Linked DNA regions of Homo sapiens: region 1 is linked to region 2. Evidence: promoter capture Hi-C in human tissues and cell types (Jung and others, 2019). All regions are on one chromosome and are shown on one strand. Each heading gives the region's core, a stretch centred on a gene start or on the middle of the fragment in contact. The rest is flanking DNA. Distances are from core to core; before and after follow the strand shown. Region 1 overlaps LOC101927253 (a long non-coding RNA gene). Region 2 holds the start of CHAD (chondroadherin).

What was found. The method cuts DNA at HindIII sites, captures the fragments that hold promoters and counts their contacts. A contact is called where the count stands out against the background at its distance.
Region 1: a contact is called between a fragment that was not itself captured here and the fragment with the promoter of CHAD in region 2, in 1 of the 25 tissues and cell types used here (spleen).

The regions. Positions count from the first base shown.
Region 1 is chr17:50,624,918-50,630,498 of GRCh38, reverse strand. It overlaps LOC101927253 (a long non-coding RNA gene), which reads left to right. Exons shown (of 2, transcript XR_243718.2): 2 at 3,159-3,469. It overlaps CACNA1G (calcium voltage-gated channel subunit alpha1 G), which reads right to left. Exons shown (of 38, transcript NM_018896.5): 38 at 3,025-4,482. The coding sequence ends at 3,748. Among named protein-coding and RNA genes, the nearest start is that of ABCC3, 7.2 kb to the left of the region's middle. RefSeq lists an enhancer at 4,178-4,950. The HindIII fragment of the contact is 3,018 bases long and covers 1-2,801 here.
Region 2 is chr17:50,467,215-50,472,995 of GRCh38, reverse strand. CHAD (chondroadherin) reads left to right here and starts at 4,116. Exons shown (of 4, transcript NM_001267.3): 1 at 4,116-4,956. The coding sequence starts at 4,183. It overlaps ACSF2 (acyl-CoA synthetase family member 2), which reads right to left. Exons shown (of 16, transcript NM_025149.6): 11 at 1,861-1,968; 12 at 417-568. RefSeq lists enhancers at 3,243-4,200, 4,201-5,159. The HindIII fragment of the contact is 15,801 bases long and covers 942-5,781 here.

The sequences.
Region 1 (5,581 bases), core at 43-2,542, 160 kb before region 2:
GCCTGGGAACCCACAGTGATTGCAGAGCTACCCTTGGCCAGCTCTTGGACAAGCGCCTGGAGCTGAGGGATGCCTTCTCCTGTGATTGAACTCCTCTCACCACCATTCCCTATGGCCAAAAGCTGGTGGCCCACCAGGTGGGAGGCTGGGGGCCTCTCTAAGCCTCTGAGTTTGCCATGCGGGGAACACGTGTGCATATTTGTATGAACGTGAATGTGACTACTTTGGAAAAGCGCCCACCAGCAAGTCATTTTTTGAGCAGGATTCTTCCCATCGTGCCCCATTTCCTCCACACTGAGAAGAGACAGGAGTAGTGTGGGCTGGAGGTTGGCCAGACGTAGGGTCAAATCTCAGCTCTGCCATCTCCTGGCTGTGTGACCACGGGCAATTCACTTAACCTCTCTGAACCCCGCTGCCTCATGGAGAAATAGCAATCAGACTTCCCTTGCTAGGGTGTGTTGAGGAGTGAGAGACTGCATATGAGCCTCAGATTTGTTTTTATCCCCAGCTCAGCTCACTCCTCTTCCCAGTCCCCACCCCCACACAGACCTTTTCCTGGAGTCTTGGGGGTGGAGGAAGCAGAAACAGCCAAGCTTGAGGTGGGGGCCTACAGCCGCTGTCACAATTTCTTCTGAACCCCGAAGGGGAAGGCTGAGGACAAAGGCACCAGGGTAGATATTCCTAATTCTAAAAGCCCCCACATCCCTGAAGCCCCTAGCCAGTTCCATTCTGCCCCTGGAGTCCTCATCCAAGACCTGCTGCCCCCACCATCCACTCCCCATCCCAGCCTCCTTCATTTTCTCCACCCCCTACCCCCACCCCTTATGTATCCCAGAGCAGCATCAAATAACCACCCAGACAAGCAGCATGAGGTTAGCAGTTTGATATTATTATTAAGATCCAGCGGCAGCTGCTTTTCCACCTCAAAACCCTTTTAATGAGACACAACAGTTTCCATCATTGATAAAGATTTTACATCATTGGGGGGAGAGGTCACAGTTTTCTCCCCGACTACCCCAAAATACCCGCTTTGACTCTGTTGTTAATATTTCCACATCACTATCCAGAGGCTCCCCTCCAGGCACTGCCCTCTTCCAGAGAAACCCTCCAGGCCACAGAGAGGGCTGCTGGGGAGGGAATAGGGGAACCTTTTTGTTTTCACTGGGCTGGTCCCTGCAGATCTCTACAGAGCAACCCAAAAGCATAGTAAGTTCACCCCAAATTCCTTGGTCCCTACTGGGAAGAGGAGGCCAGGGGAAGAGGAACGCACAAAGAACCAGGCATGCTAAGACTCAACCTAAGCAACTCTCCAGTACTCTAGTGCTGCTGGGCTGGTGGTCGGGAGCGGGGAGAGGGGGTGCTGGAAGAGTGGGGAGGGGTAGGAGTCCAGCTCTCTGGCTTCACCTTGACCCAGAATCTTCTAACCACTAGGAGAATGAAAGATCCCAGAACCCCCTCCCCATACCCTCCAACGTCATTAGGGAATAGACAGCTATAGAATTCTACAAAAATATAAAAGCTTAGTCTGCAGATCCAGGTGACAGAACTCTAGGAATTTTGTACAGCTTTGCTTTTTTTATCTTAAATGGCAGCTCCTACAAGCACTCCCTCTCCCCACCCAAGGAGGCCAGAGGAAAAAGTTTGACATTATTGCACACCCTAAAAGGATAAAACCAGGCTTTGGCTTCAAGGAGCGGTATGAGTTCTGTCCAAAAGAGCAATGAGAAAAGCTCTCACCCAGCTTAGAAAACAATGCTGGACAACGCCTCCAGGTCCACTCGCCCGGCAGCCTGGTGCCCCCAGCTCCCAGTTGACCGGATCAGACGGTTTGTGAGCGAGCGTTGCCACTGAGGTTTCAAAAACCCAATCCAATCCTGGGGTTTGAAGGCCCTGGGGGCGAGGGGAGGGGGCTGTTCAAGGGAGTGGGATTGGGACAGATGTTTGGGAGGTGGCTAGGTGACAGGCTGGCTGGACCCATGGTCACCACCTCTTGGCACCAAGATTTCAGACAAGAGAATATTGTCTGCAGTAGCACCAGACAGGTGGCCTGGGCCACGCCACTCCCCCTCTTCCTGTCTGCCTGCCCCTGGCCACCTTCACACCTCCCTCCTCCACTGGCTCCCGCTAGGCAGGCAGCAGCAGCAGTGCATGTAAACATCTTGAGCGCTCGCTCATCACCGCCCAGGGGGCCAGCTCCCCACTCAGCACCTGGCCTCTGACCCTACCACCTCCACCAGGAGGTTGCCTCTGGACGCCCAGCCCTGGACTCTCATCCTCAGGAAGCACAGCCCACTCCGTTGACACGGTTTAATTCCATTGCGGGCAGGTGGACGAGGTCCCCATCGGACAGTGCCTGTAATGCCAGTCAGCTAAGCCCGCCCCCAAGGCAGGAGGCTGAAGTCCAGACAGCTCAGGTCACGCATCCAGCCAGAAGTGTGGCAAATCCGTGCTGAAGCTTCAGGAAGGAAAACCCAGAAACACTTCCCCCCTCCCCCACCAACCCACAGATCCAGATCTGCAGCCTCTGAGGCAACCTCCCCCAGCCTCAGTCGGCCCCATTAACCAAAACAGCTTCATTATGCCAATTTCCAGCTTTCAATGTGCGGCTGATAGCTGTCAGCAGAAATAAGAGTTAATCTGGAATTACTCCCATTCACTGAGCTGCCTAGCTAGAGGAAGCTGTAAAGCTTTGATAGCAGCAGAAGAGACCCTGCCTCCCCAGCCTGCACCAGGCGGAGGGGCTCCTCCTCTCCTTCACGGCTGGGGAGGGCAGGCTAGAGGTGCAGCCTTCCACAGCAAGGGGTTCAGGTTCTCTCACTCTCAGACACACACACTCTCACACTCATATACACACACGCACTCATATACACAAACACATACACACTCATACACACACAAAGAGGCAGCCCTGAAGCTTCCCTCCCCGCCGCCCACTCCCCATCTCCAGGATCTCTCTCTCATCAATGCCATCTGGACGTGCCTAACTCTCCATCCCTTTTGCTTTTACTCTGGACCGTGATTAGCTTTTTATTTAGGAAAATTACTTTATTTTATATATATATAGATAGATAGATAGATATGTATGTATGTATATATAAAAAGGTTCCATTTCACTTGTAAAATCTCATTTTTTCTTTTTCTTTTTTTTTTCCCTACAGAAAATGATGACGAGGTTAAAGGAAAAAATAAGTTACATTACAGTTTCCAAAATGGTTCTCGCTCTCCGCTGAAGATGGGCCACCGTTGGGGCTGCAATGTGCTCGCGGTCCCAGCTTGTGCTTTGCAAGAAGAGGGAATATAACTAGACTGTTATTTTAGGTTAAAATAGCCAAGAGACAGACGCCTTCGCCTCAAAAATATTCTGAGACACATAAAAGTAGAAGGAAACAAGTCTCTTCAGTCACAAAATGTCGTACATCCCGCATATACTAGATTCAATTAATTTAATAAAATAGAATATACATAGAGATTCTGCACAAACGTATTGCTTTCTCCCAACAGCTTCTGGTGTCGGGAACCTCAGCTGCACCGGGCCTCTCCTTCTGCCTGGAGCCAGAGTTGCCGGGGCTGCTGCTTTTAACTCTCTTTGGAAGTTCTGCTTGCAGGTACCCAGAGCCACTGAGGCAGGGAGGAGCGCCTCCGCCTCCTTGGTGTCTATATGGAACTTTTGTCAGGAATATAGCCCAGGAGGAGGAGCTAGGACTTGGCACCCAGTGGAGAAAGGTGAGTGGGAAAGTGGGGCAGGACTCAGGGGTCCAGGTCTGCTGGGTCAGAGGATAAACCGGAGAGACTCAGCACATCTTTCTTTGGGGAGGGCGAGGCAGCCATGCTGTCAGGGGGGCCAGAGGCCAAGGGATCCTTGGAGTCGCTGGACGGAGCCCTCCTCCGGAGGCAGATACCAGGGCTGGGCGGGGTCCGAGGACCTTGGCTCTCGGGGGGGTCTATGGTGATACTAGGCGGGCTGAGTTTTTTCTTGGGCCGGCTCCCAGGCCCCCCAAGAGGCTGGCCCCCAAGGTTAGAGGGGTCTGTGCCCAGGTGGGGTTGGGAGCCGCTGTCCAGGCAGCTGACGGCGATAGAGTGTCTCCTCTGCTCATCCAGCCAGGACGTAGGCCGGCGCTGGCAGCTCTGGGCCTCCACGCTGTAGCACTTCTTCAGGTCCCGTGGGGATGGGGGCTCCTCCTGGCCGCCAGGGGGCAGGAGGTCTCCTGAAATCCAGCTCAGCTCCGTGTCCAACTCTAAGCTGCTTCTGGTCTCTGGAGGGCCCTTGCCCCAGTTGGGTTCTGGGCCTGGGCAAGGGGCTGGCGGGGTCATGTGCTTGGAGATCTTGCTGTGGCTGCGGGAGTGCTGCTGTGCCTGGGTACTTGACTGGCCCCAGAAAGAGTAGGCCCGGGCCAGGGGCGGGGAGGGCCCACTCACCTCTGCCAGCAGGTCTTCCCGGCTGCCCAGACCCTGAACGTCCAAGGAGTCAGTCCTTATTGCTGCCTATATGGGGTGGGGGAGGGCTCAGCCCAGCAGTCTCCTCTCCAGCATGGACTAGCCCTCCTGTCAAGCTGGCTGTGCCCCCTGCCCACCACCACCAGGCACAGCAGGACTATCCTAAGCAGAGGTCCTGGTAGCCGCTCTTACTAGTAGATAGGGGTCATTGCAGCCTGACCTCTGTTGTCCACCATGCCTCCTCTCTCCCCACTAAACCCTGTCTTCCCTCCCCCATGCTCTGGTCTCCCCTAAGCCTGCAAGAATCGCTCTCTCTGCAGCCCCTGCCTCCTGGGATATGAGAGAAGCCAGGCCATCTCTGCTCACTGAGCTGGCTCCTTCACGCCTCCCCGCCTCTGCCTAGACTTCCCCTTTGGCTCTGAATACCCTTCCTGATTGGCAAGAATCCCTCGATTTTACGGACTCAGGTTCTCTGTGACACAGTGTGTGACAGTCTCTGTCCCCAAGTAAAACCGACCCCTTCCCCTTCTGTGTCCCTGCTGCCCTCCACACATAGGTGTCTGGCAGCTGTGAGCTGAGGCTGCAATGATCTGATGGCAGGCATGTCTCCACTATTAGACTGTGAGCTTCAGGGGGCAGGGGCTGTGTCGCCAGTGCCTGGCACACAGAGGCTGCTTAGTGACTATTTGCAGAATGAATAAGGACTGTGCCTGCTCCCCCAAGCATGTGGGATTGAGATTCTCATGTGTCCACGCTCATGCCTCAGGACACACACATGGCATGGGCTGTGGCCTTATCACAGGTGGGCTCTGGGGCCGGGCGCGGTGGCTCACGCCTGTAATCCCGGCACTTTGGGTGGCCGAGGCGGCCAGATCATCTGAGGTTGGGAGCTCGAGCTCAGCCTGACCAACATGGAGAAACCCCATCTCTACTAAAAATACAAAATTATCCAGGCATGGTGGCGCATGTCTGTAATCCCAGCTACTCGGGAGGCTGATGCAGGAGAATCACTTGAACCCAGGAGGCGGAGGTTGCGGGGAGCCAAGATTGTGCCATTGCACTCCAGCCTGGGCAACAAGAGCGAAACTCAAAAAAAAAAAAAAAAAAAAGAATCTGGGCTCTGGAAGGTGGGCCCTAGGCTTGGCCA
Region 2 (5,781 bases), core at 2,867-5,366:
GTGTGAGTCACCGCGCCTGGCCTATTTTCTTGGTGTTATTTATCGATGTTGGGCATCATCTGTCTTCCTCCAAAAAGCAGGATCCTTCTCATCTTACTTTCCTCTGGACCTCTAGCGGCGAGAACGGTGCTAGCACATAAGGAATTCTAGTAAGAATTTGCTGAGCTAACAAATGAGTGACTGAATCTGGACTCAGATTTTGCAGCTGCTGGTGTAGGGTGATGACCCAGTTGCTTTCTTCTGTGCTATGTATGATCATCCCCACCGTATACATTTTGGAAATTAAGACTCCAGCATGTGAGGGGTCATCTTGATACCCACATCCTCACGGTGCCAGGTTAATGTTCCCGGCTCAGCCTCAAGACCTCCAGCCTCCCCTCAGCGGCCAGAGCCTCCACCCCGCCCTGCCTTCTCACCCTGTCCAATACCACTTGTCCTGATCCACTGCTTCCTCTGTCTTCTGAGGCTCACCCCAGTAGCCCAGCATGACGCAGTACCCTCGGATGCACAGCTCCCCGGGCGTGTTCAGCTTTGCCAGCGTCCCTGCCTCCATGTTCATGATCCGGGCCTGGGACAGGATGGCCTCAGGTTGGGGCTTCCTATCCTCTTGCTTCAGGATAGGTGGTCCTTGGAAATGGAGAGAGCTTTGCCTGCCCCCAACCCCCCAACCCAACTGCCTGGAATGAGGCCCCCTGGCTCTGCTTATCCCCATCCAGAGAAGGGAGACAAAGGCTAGAGTCGACCCAAAGCCAGTGAGAGACCTGAGCTGGGCATGAAAGAAGAGCTGAGTCCCAGGCTGGGAGGGCTGAGGAAACAGAGTGGGCAGGCAGCTGCTGCAAAGAAAGAGGTTTGTGGACTGCAGAGCCAGCTGAAGAATTATAAACCGTGCAGAGGAGAAGGGAGTCTCCTCTTACTTCCCATTAAGCAGCAAATAAGCCAAACAGGGTGGCATGGCAACACCATGTGAACAGGAGAGACAGAGTCTGAAAGCCTGGTAGAGAAAAGAGCCACGGCCACCGTGCCAAGGAAAGCTGAGCCTCTGTGTGCCTCAGTGTCTGTGTCCGTGAAATGGGGTGAGTGATGCCTGCCCCTGTTTCCCTTCCAGGTGGGCATCTTAGTGACAGTGGCAGTGCAGCTGTAGCACACACGGGAGGAGGCTCACATCCCTACTCAATCCCTGGGTACATGGTTGCTCTGGCGGGAGGGCAGGGCAGATTCACGCCAGGACAGCGGTCAGCCCCAGGGGAAGCAGCTGCTTGTGCACGGGGGCAGCGATCCCCCAGGGGCGGGAGCAGAAGGGTGCAGGGGAAATCAGGAGCCAGCTGGCACAGCCCCAGTGTTGGAGCAGGAAAGGAGGCATGGCTGGGCATTTGAGATTCAGGTGCACTCTGGGGCAACCTTTGAGGGGCAAAGGGACCGCCCCAAAGGGATAGGCTGCTTGGGAAATGAAGTGTTTACGCCAAGCAAGAAGAAGAACTCTGCTAAAGCGAGAGGCGAGCACCACTGGAGGAAAAGAAGCTGTGTAGGAAAACTCTCTGTGCTCTGGCTCCTCTTTGAGGCTACCCTGGCTGCCCTGAAACAGACAGTGGGCTTGGCAAAAACACACCTCAGACAGGAAGGGAGGCCGCGGAGAAGTTCAGCTGGCAGCCGCTCACAGCCACTGTTCCAGCTCTTCCCCTTTCATGCTTAGCCCACAGAGAACACTCCGGGCCAGGCCTAGCACACCCCTGCTGCTGGGGGGCTCTAGGCATCCTGAGTGAGCCATTTGACTCTCTCACTGAAAGCAACCGATGTCCCAGCTGGGTGCACCCCAGCTGGGTGACGGGAGGTGGGACTTTGGAGTCTTGGTCAGGGGCTCACCTCCGTGTGAGGCATAATTCTGCCCACGCTTTCTGCCTTCTGCTCCACAGTGTCCTCAGGGAAGTGCGCGAATGTCACGGGACTGTTCTCTGTGGTTCCATAAGCAACCTAGAGGGTCCAGAAAGGGTGTTTGAAGAGGGCTCAGCACGTGCAGAGGGATCAGGTGAGCTATCTGAGGAAATGGGAAGGAATTCATAAAAGAAAAGGGAAAGTGGAGGGCAGCCGAATGGTGGAAACAGAGACATCATTGGTAGGGGCCTGGGGTCAGGAGGCAGAGGTGCTGGGAGTGAGCAGACTAGATCTCTGCAGGGCCCCAGATCTGAAAGAAAATTGAGAGCAGGGACACCATTCTCTTCCAGCTGGAGCTCTCTCAGTGCCCCGTTTCCCTGGAGCAGCCACCTGTCTGTGCCTGTGGCTCCGGTATTACCAACACCCCACACTTCTCCCCCCATCCCCTGGCTGCCTTAACCCCACCTTCCTGATTTCAGGCCACATCCCCGGCTCCTCCCTTCCAAGCTGAAGGCCCCATAAACTTGATGAGAAAGCCAGCCTGCCTTGGCCCAGCTAGGAGTGGCACAGACACAACCCCACCCCCGCATTCTGCAAACCCTGAACAAGTGCCTGGCCTTGGGGCAGGCGTCCCCCAAGCTCTGGAGAGTTTCCCGTGAATTTATTTCCATCAAAATAAAAAAACAACCTAAGCAGTGATTTTAAAAACCAGTGGTACCCCCACCCCACCTCCCCCATTTCCAGTGGTTGGAAAGCCTGAGCAACAGAAAAACCAGAAGCCAGCCTTGGAGAAGCCTAAATACCATCAAGGAATGGTCTAGGCCAAGTATGACCCTCCTATCCTAGAGGCAAGGGGCAGAGAGGTTTGGGAAAAGGGCAGGCCCTGGAAACCAGGCCCCAACACGAGGGTACTGGGTAAGGGAAGAGAGGCTAGTTACCCCGTATCCTAGGTCCCCTTTAATCAACGGATACCAGATCTCATCCATCCTCCTCCCTGCACCAAGCTTCCCCCATATCAGCTGCTCTGGCTCTGGCACGGCTGGGGTTTGGTTCAATGTGGGTTCTGGTTTCTCCTTCCACCCCTCATCACAGACAATATCCTGTGCCAGGCAGCTTGGAGCTCACCCTGAGGCCAGAGCTGTGACCCTGCCTGCTCACCCTCCCCTTTCCACAGGAATCCGGACATCGTGGCTGGCAAGTGGGCACACAGAAATCTGGCGGGCTGGGGCGGGACTGCCCACAGAACTTAGGGTCTGGCAGCCAGAGCCGTCCAGGGCTGGTCCCTCGACCTGCCCCACCCCCTCCCGCACCCCTCCTCACAGTCCTGGGGCCACCGCCCGAATGTGGCATCTGCCAAGTACACCTCGGCGCCACTCAGCCGCCACCCTGAGACCCCTCAGGGGCGGGTCCTGACCACTAGGGTTGGGGATGAGGGATGGAGATATTTCGGGGCGATGAAGGAGGGGGGATGGTGCGACTGTGCTTGTGGCCTGTGGTTTCCAGGTGTGTTTGCCATTCCTGTGGGCCACTCTCCCCCACTTCCCACTTCTCTGCTTAGCCTTCAGCGGTGGAAAAAGGGGATGAGGGCGCCGGCGACAGAAACGCAAGCGGGGTTGGAAGAGAGGGGTGGGGGCGCGCCCGAGGGTGGGGAAGGAGCTCGGGTCTACCCAGGGCCAGCTTCGGCGCGTCGAGTCTGAAGTGGGAGACCGACGCCGGGGCGGCTCTCACGCTCGGCAGGCGCCGCACAAGCGCCCCTTTAAAGCGCAGGCAGCTGGCCCACCGCAGGGAGACGCATCCAGCTGTCCGGCCCCGCTTCCTCCCGCCTCGCATCCAGGGCACCCGGCCGAGCGTGTGTGGATGGCGCGGCGTGGAGGCTCAAACCTGAGCAAACAAATAAGTTGAGGGAACGCCTCCCTCTCTCCGATGTAAACTCGGGGCTCCAGACATAACTATTCCCCCTTCCCAGAAAAGCCCCGGGAAAGGCGGTAGGCAGAGGAGCACCATAGGAGAGCGGGGGGCTACAGCCGGGGCTCAGGGCTCGGGGCTCGGGGGCCACGGTCCCACCCCCTCATGCACGGTAGCCGGCTGGGGGAACGGCCCCGCCCCCTTCCCCGTGGAGGGCGGGGGCGCATCTCTGGGCGCGAGCGAGTTAAGCCCAGTGGCCTCGATGCTCCACGTAGGAGCTGGCTCGGCTGCCGGCTGCGGTCAGGGCCACCGTATAAAGAGGGCGGCAGACCCGAGCGCCTAGGACTCGCCGCTGCCCGCGCCCCGCCGCCGCTGCTGCCCCCAGCCCCGGCCCCAGGCGTCCCAGCCATGGTCCGCCCAATGCTCTTGCTCAGCCTCGGCCTCCTGGCTGGTCTGCTGCCGGCGCTGGCCGCCTGCCCCCAGAACTGCCACTGCCACAGCGACCTGCAGCACGTCATCTGCGACAAGGTGGGGCTGCAGAAGATCCCCAAGGTGTCAGAGAAGACCAAGCTGCTCAACCTACAGCGCAACAACTTCCCGGTGCTGGCTGCCAATTCGTTCCGGGCCATGCCGAACCTCGTGTCATTGCACCTGCAGCACTGCCAGATCCGCGAGGTGGCCGCCGGTGCCTTCCGCGGCCTCAAGCAACTTATCTACTTGTACCTGTCCCATAACGACATCCGCGTGCTGCGCGCAGGTGCCTTCGACGACCTGACCGAGCTGACCTACCTCTACCTGGACCACAACAAGGTCACTGAGCTGCCCCGGGGGTTGCTCTCCCCGCTGGTCAACCTCTTCATCTTGCAGCTCAACAACAACAAGATCCGTGAGCTGCGCGCAGGCGCCTTCCAGGGAGCCAAGGACCTGCGCTGGCTCTACCTGTCGGAAAACGCGTTGAGCTCCCTGCAGCCCGGGGCCCTGGACGACGTGGAGAACCTCGCCAAATTCCACGTGGACAGGAACCAGCTGTCCAGCTACCCCTCAGCTGCCCTGAGCAAGCTACGGGTGGTGGAGGAGCTGAAGCTGTCCCACAACCCCCTGAAAAGCATCCCGGACAATGCCTTCCAGTCCTTTGGCAGATACCTGGAGACCCTCTGGCTGGACAACACCAACCTGGAGAAGGTGAGCTCCTGGCTGTGGGCTCTGCCCTGGTTCCTTCTTCCCTTCCTGGAGGCCCCAGGAGCCAGGGCCACAGCTGGCACCATCCCCCGTCCCCAGGTTCCCTGTCCCTCTGGCTATCTCCAAGGTGAGCAGCTCTGCCACCTCCCTTCCTCGCCTTGTCACATCCCTACCCTAATCCCTGTCTGCTGCCAGTCTCGACCACTGCCCTCCTAGGATTCTTACATATAAAAGGAGTGGGACTGCCCTGGCCCCACAAAAGGCCCCCTAGGGCCATCTCCAGTGCTTCCAAACCCCCAACTGTGAGCAGCAGCCACCTCTTCCTGTTGGGCCTTCCACCCCTCCTCTGCTGTTTTTCCCGTCTCCAGTAAACCTACCACCCCATAAAGGAAGGTTTGTTTATTGAGGAGCCTTCCAGAGGAGCTGGGCAGATCAGGCCCACAAAGAGACCCTGTTCCTGGTGGGGGCTGTGCATGTGTGCTAAGGGGGAGTGGGGGACTGGGGAGTGAGGGGAAGCAAATGCCTGAGGAAGACATTCTCCATGCCCCATAGAGGCCCTGGTGGATGGCCCTGCCCAATCCACACAGACACAATTCACTGCATTCTCAAGTCCATTGCAGCTCAGTAGGCGTGGGACCAAGGGCTCCCCCAGGATGCAAGCATCGTGCCCATGGGCTCCGTGAAGGGGCAAAGGCAAGACCACTATTGTCAATCCTTGGCCCAAGACCCCAGGTGTCTCTCCACAGAGAAGACTGGCGTGACTCACTGTCTCCAGACTGCTAACTGCCCTTTGCCCTCCTCCGTCACTAGACCCATCTCCTGTCTGCA